2 separate regions of the Homo sapiens genome follow, and region 2 is linked to region 1. Evidence: promoter capture Hi-C in 16 types of primary human blood cells and fetal thymus (Javierre and others, 2016). All regions are on one chromosome and are shown on one strand. The core of a region is centred on a gene start or on the middle of the fragment in contact, and the rest is flanking DNA. Distances in the headings are between cores, read along the strand shown.

What was found. The method cuts DNA at HindIII sites, captures the fragments that hold promoters and counts their contacts. A CHiCAGO score of 5 or more calls a contact.
Region 2: a contact is called between a fragment that was not itself captured here and the fragment with the promoter of PCM1 in region 1, in 1 of 17 cell types (total CD8 T cells). The highest score is 5.6, in total CD8 T cells.

Annotation. Positions count from the first base shown.
Region 1 is chr8:17,920,312-17,925,299 of GRCh38, forward strand. PCM1 (pericentriolar material 1) reads left to right here and starts at 2,677. Exons shown (of 39, transcript NM_006197.4): 1 at 2,677-2,877; 2 at 4,402-4,469. LOC124901867 reads right to left here and starts at 4,676. Exons shown (of 4, transcript XM_047422505.1): 1 at 4,603-4,676; 2 at 3,846-3,916; 3 at 3,198-3,455; 4 at 717-3,035. The coding sequence starts at 4,676. The coding sequence ends at 2,353. RefSeq lists silencers at 1-163, 2,889-3,183 and enhancers at 2,045-2,494, 3,645-3,704. The HindIII fragment of the contact is 6,694 bases long and covers 1-4,988 here.
Region 2 is chr8:26,378,521-26,383,175 of GRCh38, forward strand. BNIP3L (BCL2 interacting protein 3 like) reads left to right here and starts at 4,534. Exons shown (of 6, transcript NM_004331.3): 1 at 4,534-4,655. The coding sequence starts at 4,611. It also overlaps the pseudogene SDAD1P1. RefSeq lists enhancers at 3,011-4,210, 4,184-4,483. The HindIII fragment of the contact is 838 bases long and covers 1,691-2,528 here.

The DNA.
Region 1 (4,988 bases), core at 1,427-3,926:
ACTCTTTAGATAAGTAGTTGACTTTCTATAGTTTGGCCCCAACCTGGTAATAAACCTTGCCTTCTCCCACCTCCCCATCACTTACCATATATAAATCCTCTACTTCAGCCAGTCTGTTTTTTGTCCATTGCTTACTCTGGATGTGTGATCTGTGTTCTTGGTATATCCCACTTCCTTGAACATCATTCTGCAATTTGGAACTTCCACCCCCTGCATATTTAATACATGTGTTAGGTTGTTCTCTTGAATGTGGAAAACTGAAAGGCAGTTTCAATGTTTATCTCTTAGAGGCCATTCTTCTGTTTCCTATCTACATTTCCACAGACTGCTGCCCCTAATTTCATCCTACCTATAAATCCTAGAGCTATCATTATCTCTGAGACAAAACATCCCTATTTTAAAAATCTAAATTACCACAGCAATCAGTGTCTACATCATTTGTTTGGCATAGTGACGGACTATTAACACTAAGTCGATTCATTCTGATAAAGTTTGTTTCTAAAAATAGATGTTAAATTTCTGAAAGCCAGGTATAATTTTATCGCTTCTTGTTTTTTTTCTTTCCTTCTTCCCTTACAAAGATCAGTAATGCTCATATTTGAGTTTGAGATCCCCTTTTCAATGTAAATATTTCTCAAATTCCTCTTACCTCCCAACAAACAATAGTATTGACATTCTGGGGCTTCATAAATTCAGAAAACATCATGACTAGTAGATATTATAATTTCATGCTTTTGAATTTATTAGAATTGTTTTAATGATAACAGCTTCTACATTTCAATGTAAATATTTCTCAAATTCCTCCTACCTCCTAATAAACAATAGTATTGACATTCTGGAGCTTCATAAATTCAGAAAACATAATGACTAGTACGTATTATAATTTCACGCTTTTGAATTTATTAGAATTGTTTTAATGATAACAGCTTCTACATACGTTTAATAATAATACATATGTATAAAGCAAAATAATGATGATAGCTAATATTTCGGGCCTCAACATATACTAGTGTTTTTATATGCGTTGTATTTAATTAAAAAAAATCTTAAAGGAATCACATAGACCTCCGTTTAAATTTAGGCTCTACCACTTGCAGCTGCTACAAGTTTGATTTATATAATCTTTCATTGCCAAAACGGGTCAGATTCAGAACCAGCCTCTTCAGGGTAACTGTGAGGATCAAGAAAATCACAACAGCCGAAGTGCTTTACAGTGTGCCTGGCATAAAACAAACTCTGAGAACATTTTTTAAAAAATCCTTTCAAGGTAGGCAGTATCATTCCTTCCCCCTCATTTCATAGATGGGGCAATTAAGGCTCAGAAAGGCACGTCGCTTGTCCAGGATCTTGGAGTGGTGGAATTAGGATAGGGCATTCTGGACTACAATAAACACCTGAGCGTTTAGCTGCTGTGTTCTGAGCTCCCACAGCACTTTTTCTTACAACACAAACTTTATTTACATCACACTCCACTTCCGCATCCTTCACTAAAATATGAGCTCTTCAAGGGCAGGGACTATATTTTTGCTACCGCAGTAGTTAGCGATACACACACAGAATATGAGGAAAAAGTGTCTGACCAACGATCAATGCACTCACGACTGAACCTACGGTGGCAGATTGCAGTGGGATAGAAGAGCTTTATGTGAATTGCGTACTGAGATGCAGACCTACTATTTTGGGAACAATTTGTTTTTGTTGTTGAAACCCAGAATGCAATTCTTCTTTTTACCTTTATTTTGCTTAAAAAGTTATTCCATAATTATAAACTGCGTAAAACTAGAAGAATGCCCTTGCACTCAACTAAAACTGACAGGTGTTTTACCTTTCCAGTCAGGCACATTGAAGGCCTTGTGACTTTATTGATTTTTGTTTTTTAAAGGGAGGACCTGCCAATTTATTAATCTTAATAGAGCTGTAACAGGAGAGTATAAATAAAAAGATAGTTCAGAGAAAATTTACTGAAATTAAGTTTGGATTAAAATCATCTGGCTCTTTTAAGGAAAAGGGACATTAACCAAAAGTGGCGTTAACTATCAACAATATTTATGATTCTCTCACTCAGTAGATACATAATGACGTCTGGCAAATTGTTTAACTTCCGTGGAACAATCCCCTCATATGTAAAATCAGGAGGTTGGACTACATTGTAAGTGTCCTTTTGTTTCCACCTCTTCGTGACCGAATGTGGGGTGAGGAAGGGGCAAAAAAGCGATCCCGGTCTTGGCTCCTTCTTCCGGCACGGGCCGGAGCTGACACCCCCACGGAAAACCGCACAGCGCCTCCGCTCTTTCTCCACGGGCTGAGGGATCAATGCACTTCCGCATAGGCCTAGGGCCCCACGCTCCGCGATCAGCGCCGGAAGCGCACGGCATGCTGGGATTTGTAGTCCTCCACCTGTGGCCGGCAGGCGTTTAGAACGCGAGGTCTAGTTGGCATTCTGGGATACATAGTTCCTGGGCGGGTGGGGGCGGATTCGTTGGTGTAATCTCTTTTCGGCTTAAAGAGCCAGAAGCGACACCACAGACTCCGGCGGGTCACATGACTCCAGTCTAGCTCGCATTGCGGCTCCCGCCCGGGCGAGTTCTCGCCCCCGCGCGGCCGTTGCCGAGGAGACGGCGCATGTCCCGCCGCGCGTTGCCCCCTCTGCAGTACCCCCGCCCCTCTTCTCCCACCACAATGAGATCCTAAGATGGCGGTGGCTGCGGCGGTTGGCGCTGCGTAGCTGAGGTCGAAAAGGCGGCCACTGGGGCCGAGGCAGCCAGGAAACGTGTGGGCCTCTCTGCTGCGGTCTCCGAGGGCCGACCGCTGCCGGCGGCGGGTCGTGGGGGCTGACTGTCGCTCTGCCTTTGACAGGAGAGGCTGCTTCTTGTAGAGGTAATGCCTGCGCGTCCCCAGCCCTTGGCAACCTAGGGCGGCGCGCCCCAGAGGCGGGAGAGTAACGGCTCCGGGACACTCGGCCCTGTTGGGTCTGGCCACGGGCCCACGCCTCCTCTGTAGGTTCCCGGGTCTTCCTGCCCCGGGCTTCCCGTGCCCTAGGCGGTCAGTCCGCCCGCTCCCTCAGGACTGATCGCCGGGATCCCCGGGTGAGCACCTCGCGACGCGTTGGTGATTGCAGGACTCCCTTCTTGCCTCCTCGCCCCTCCTGCTGGCCCTGTCGGGGAGGCTGTTCTGCGTCCCGGTGGCTCCGGCTATACCCCTTGCGGGCGGAGGAAGCGGAGCGGGGACTCTGGTTTGGGTGCTAGGGGCACTGGGTCGAGTTCTTAGAGAAACAGGCCTTGGTGGCCATAGTTCTTCCCCGCGTTCCCTCTGTGGAACTCTCGGTGTCCAGAGTTTGGGGTGTAGAAGGGCGGATGAGGAGCGACGCGACTCTGAAGAGTTGCAGTTGGGCTGTGAGCTGCAGGATTTCCGCCGTCTCTGGTGCTGTGGGAGCCGATGGGCCGGGGGAGGCGTTCCTGGGAAGGTTAATGGAGTAATTATTGCCCCTTCTTTCTCCCTTCCTACCTATCTAGTTAGAATTGGGCCTAGAACCGGGAAAGACTAAATGCCAAGTGGGACTGGGGGAAACGTTGTTTGGTTTACAGAAACTGGCGTTTGGGGATTAGGCCCCGCCAGGGAGGCTGGGCGCGCCAACTTTGCATCCCTCAGCCTACTCCCCAGGAACTCGCCTGGTTTAATTTTTTTTGTTTTGTTTTGTTTTTTTGAGCGAGTTGAGGTCTGTATTGTGTGTCTTACGGGTGACGGTTCGTGTTTGGGCGCTGGAAGGAGCGGGCTTTCTGGGCGCCCCTACCACCCCCGCCCCATAACCGCTTTCCAGACTCCGCCTGCTGGTGTTCTCTGGTTACCGGAGTGGGTGTTGCAGAGCCTCGGGTGCACCTGCTCCTTTCTTTCCCTAGCACCTTCCTGGTGAGGACCCCTGAACACCAATATAATACAGAGTTTTTGAATTGAAGGTAAACCTGGTATTTATGTAGTGACGAGGTTATTTTATTATGAAGTACAGTAGCTTTTAAATGAGCAAACATTTTTAAAATCATCGGATATACGAGGTTGTTACATAGTTTGAGTAACAGGAAGCTCGATCAATCAGAGGAGTAAACTTTGGCATAGACTATTAAAGGATAGTTAGGGCTAACCATCTTTGTTACACTGTTCCGAAATAGATATCACTTTGCTGTTTGGTAAGATTTCAGAAGTTTAGGGGATTTAAGCATTTATGCATATCACACTATTTTCCAAAAGAATTGAGGTAACTTAAATTTAAAATATGAATAAGTTATATTTTTCCCCTTCTTTTGATCTTTCTAAACATACTTTAGACCAAAACTGAAGTATTTTTTATTCTGTATTTCATAGCGTAAGTAATTTACTTAAGTGATACATATTTTTAATCCTAATTAGGAAACAGCTTTGAAGTGTGGAGCGGGAAAGGAGCAGTTTCTGAGCTGCAAAAACTAGTTTCTAAACAGGTAATTTGACATTATTATCTGTATTATCCTTTGTATTAGAGTTGGAGAAGACTTTATGGTGGACACTGCTGTCACAGTTACAGTGCATGACTGAGGATCCTCTCTGCTTAGTAAACAAACTTTCTGGGTTCACCGCCCTGTTTGCTCTGCTTTTCGGCGTGCTGCTTTGGCCTGCCGGTATATCTTTGTTCGGAAAGGCCCTGTCATTCCTAATTATTAATTACTAGAATGGTTTATGCAGTACCGTTTGAAATTTATTTGTCTTCACAGAATTTTTTCAACCTGTTTGAATTTGTCCTATAACTGGATAGCCTCTCTTTCCAAATCCATTTAATCTCAAGTTCTCTCCTACAACATTCCTATTAATTGGCTGTTCATGAACTCTACTTGTCGAACTTGTTATACCTTGACCGAAATTTAGTTGTCTAAAATTACTTTATTATTATTTTTTGTACTTCGATCTCCCTTTCCTGGTATAAAGTTACTTGAAACATTACTTTTAGCGCATAGTACATTGTC
Region 2 (4,655 bases), core at 860-3,359, 8.5 Mb after region 1:
CGTAGTCCTGACTGGGAAAACAATTCTATAAATATGTCAATAATCCCCTCAATTTCTTTTTTATCATTTGGCATTAGAAACCTTTTATTGAGACAAACGGTGGGCTGAAAATAATACAGGGTGAAGGAAGGTTGAGGAAACCAGTATGAAGGCATCTCAAATGATGAACTAAATACATTCCAAAGGTACTATTTACACTTAAGGCAATTTTAAAAGTGAGGTCTTAACCAAAAAGCCTTTACATGGCATTAAAAAAAAAAAGCGGGGGTCATTTAAATCTTTTGGATTGACTAAAAGAGCTAAATTATGTACCCAAAATCTGTACAGCAGGGGCCTGTTTTCAGCAGGTAAGCCTATTATATGCAAGAAAGAACCTCTTACTCTTGTTACAATTGTCCTGTTTTGCTTTGTTTTACAGGAATATATAACCCCCATCCCCACAGAGTTAGTCCATAAGGCCTCAGTGTCTGCATAGAAATGTGGACCTACCTCTACTAGAGAACTATTTACACTGCACTGTAAATACACGTCTGTGTCCACCCCCACAACTAAGCTGTCAATGCCTTGAGTGAAGGGGTAGTTACAACTCAGTCATTTTGTATCTACAGTGACAATTAATAGGCACTCAATACTTTTTTTTGCATGAATGATAAATGATATTACACTACCACCACTATTTACATTAACATTTCCCATCATTAGCTGTCCCCAAAATAAAAACACCAAATTGCTGCCACATTTTCAGCAGTTTTCATAATATAGTGCTTCTGGACTTTTTAATGTAAACAAACATGCTTGATTTACCAATTTTCAGAGTAATGACACAAACTTAGCATTCTTCTTGGAATGGAAAACTTTCTGGGAAGTTACTTCATTCTTTTTCTCTTTTCAAAAGGCATCTCGCAGCGCCAACTGTTTTTCTCAGAAGGAACGCTTATTTTCTGACCAGACATTCTGGCTATACCACATCATCATAAAGTTCTTCTGTTTTTTCTTCTCTTTACTTTTTGAACTGGAAAATGGATTCACTTTGGTTTTCTTCCTCACAAATTCTTTTCGGTCTGTCTTTCCAGCCATTGCAGTTGCTAGTCTTGTCTCTTTGTCAGATTTTGGCTTTTTATGAAGGCGTTCAATGTCCGGAAGAGAAAGTAATTCACCCCTCGGCTCTTCATCACTGTCGATTTCAATATATTTCCTCTTCTGGGATTTCCCGGGGACAGCGTCAAGTTCTTTTCTCATTTGCGCCATGCGGATTTTCTGGAAGTCTTCCTAACTTAAAACTCGACTGGTGCTGACGGCTGCAGTTTTGGCTTTCTGCTCCTCCATGGGCATGGTGTTCAGCTTCTTGGAAATTTCTTGCTGTTCTTCATTGGAAGAGTGTTGCACATCAACCCATTCGCCATCGGCATCCTCCTCCTCACTGAGACTGGTACTTTCCCATCCATCTTCATCATTTTCAGCACTCTCCTCTTTCTCAACTTCCAGAACTTCTGCTCCTGGAATGTAACCTTTAGCATCTAATTCTCCATATTCTTGTACTCTTGCTTCTATGGAGGCTTCTGTAGGCTTACCCCAGAATTTCTTCTGCAGCATCTGAGGATTCAGTGTTCGGAAGAGCCGAATCAAAGTTCTAGCAGACATCATTACATTATTATCCTTGTGTGTTTTATACTGAGCCAGGTCTTGGAGAAGCTTTTCAGTCATGGCCAGAGGACACTGAGCTGTTGTCTCTTTTACAGCATTGATTCCTATTGTCATGGCTTCTCCAGAGTTCTTGTCGTTAACAAAATTGTTGGCCACAGTCATAAGCAATGATTGAATAATCGCTGGGTGTACTAGGTGATGAGATGCTTGTGCAGCAAACAGAAGGTTCTTTGTTACTTCTCTTTGGTGGGGCTGCAGAAACCTTCGCAAAAAGTGATAGAAATTGAAGAGGAAGAGCTTATGAATTCCCACCAATCTGAGATGAGGTTCATGAGCATCATCTTCACTTCCAACCTCTCCTTACAGCACTCAAGCTGCTTTAGTAGTTTTTCTGCAAAATCTTGGGGATCATGAATCAAGTGAACGGCTAAAAAGTTAAACACCTCTGGTTTTTTCTTCTTCTTTTGTTTCTTGAGCACTTTCATTGCCTTTTCCAACTTTTTCTTGTTTTGGGAACTTTGTTCCCTGTAGCATACTGTGCTAGCAGGTCTCTTGCTGTTGGTCCGTCATCCTCAGATTCGGAGTCACTGGCCTGTTTTTCATCTTCATCTTTTCCAAGAAAGAATGTCAAAGCAGCAACTAATATCTTGGTGACCTAAGAGAAACATGCAGTTGTGATAACATTGACAGTTTTGGTATCATTCCAGATGTTCCTTCTGTAGAGTTCAATCATAACATCTAAAGACATCTTGGCTGCAGTTGCATTGCTATCTCTCAACATGGTATACATGAAATTTTACAATACTACATCCACTTTATTCTTGTGTTTTGCATTTATATTCTTGATATCAGTCACGATATATGTGTATGAAGTCTTTTGCAGAAGCTTATCATGGCAACAGAGAAGTTCAAAGAAGAGTTCTAGCAGGCTTGATGGATTGATGAGATTCTTATTTCTCAGCAAGATCAAAGCTTTGCAAAATGTCATTCGAAGATCTGGATCCAATACAGTATGATTACAGGACAGAAGATCTTTCACCACTTGAGGAAAATTACTTAGATACCCTGGGTAGCAGTAACTAATCTATAACAAAGCAAAGGCTCTTCTGAAGTTTCTCTCTTTCTCTCCTATTATTCAGATGCACATATTTAGGACGTTCTGTGCCATAAACACCACCAGCTCTGCTAGTTCTTTACCGGGTTTATATGGTTGCAATTTGAAAATCTCCACATTGGATGTGTAGTGATTATACTGCTGTAGAAACTCCTAGATGGAGGGTGGTGGGTCTCGCTTCATCAGATTCTGTAACTGCAGTCAGGTTGCTGGGCAGCTTGTTGTTGTTTCTGCTGGACATTCTGGCTGAAGACTGGCTTCGCGGCGAGCAGTTTTAATAAAACTCAGATGGCCAGCAGCCGCCAATCCCTACCAGCTGCGGCTTGAACTCCTGCTTCCGGGTATGACCGGAAACAGCACTCAATCTATTAATAGAGTTCATTTCTGACCAAAATCTTAAAAGAATTTGCAAAGGGATTTGACAAATCAATCCTTAAAAAAAACCTTTTAGCATGGACTTTTTCAAATATATTAAAAAATTAGAGGAATACTTTAATGTATTACATAGCTTCAATAATTACCAACACAAGGTCAATCTTGGACAAGTCCATTTTTAAGTTCATCTGAAGAGTAACTAGCCATTAACATCTGAAAAAGACAAAGGAAGAGAAACTTTAATAGTTATCTAACAGAGGTATTGCAGATAGCCCTGAAACAGACTCACATTTTTGTGGTCATTCAGAGAGTGACAAAGGTGCAATTTCAAATCAGTGTAGAAAGGATGGCTTAAAATTAATATTATTAGGTCAATGGGCTACAAAATTGGGAAGAATTGAAGTTAAATAATTTACAGCATATGGAAAATAAATTTCAGATGGATTAGAGCTCTAAATGTAAAGTTAAGCCTATAAGAAAATTAGAAAAAGTTATAAGGGAATTATAGATTAGTAATCTTGGTGTGACTGTCTCCCCAAGCCATGTAAGAATGATAAATCTGATTACATGAAAACCTTAAGCTTCTACAGAGTGAAAAAAACAAATTAAAAGACAAGTTAGAGACTGCGAGAAACATATGTCACTCATAAATCAGACCAAGGAGACTGGACGAAGACATGGAGATGTGAAGTAGGAGGTGTGCTCAGGAACATAGTTTAATGTCATCCACGTACAGGATAAACGGCTTCCCACGTCATGTCCCAGAAATCGATTAGTCGATGGGATTTGGGTGAGTACTTTCTTCTCTCTGTTTTCCTGAATTTTTCTTTTTTCTTTCTTCCCCTTTCTTCTTTCTCTTTTTTTCAGAATGATGGTGTGTTTGTAATCGACATTTTAAAAATTCTGTAACAATTAAATTTGGGGGCGGCCTTCCCTTGTTTCCCGTATGGAGTGTTGATGTTTCAGCAGCTTTATTTGGAGTTTACACGTGGAGGCACCTGGGTTTGGGGATTCCTTTGTGTCCCCAAGACACCTATTGCAGAAGTGAGTCCTAAGAGGTAGAAAACAGATGCGTGCGCAGGGCTGGGTGAAGCACTGTGGAGCCTGTGTGAGAGGAGGCACGGGCGCGAACACAGGAGCGCACTTCCTCATTCCGTTTCTCCTCATCCTCTCTCCCACTGCCACTGGCATCACTCATCCCATCCGGTCATCCCAAGTCACACGCAAGAGTTCGTTCCCGGCGCGCGCGTCAGCCTGACTCGAGCGTCTCCACGTCCGGGGCCCGCAGGGGAGCGCCCCTGCCCCGTCCGGTCGCTTGTTGTGTTGTCATCACGTGGCCTGGGCGGGCCCTGACGTCAGGGGCAGGGGAGGGACGGCGCAGGCGCAGAAAAGGGGGCGGCGGACTCGGCTTGTTGTGTTGCTGCCTGAGTGCCGGAGACGGTCCTGCTGCTGCCGCAGTCCTGCCAGCTGTCCGACAATGTCGTCCCACCTAGTCGAGCCGCCGCCGCCCCTGCACAACAAC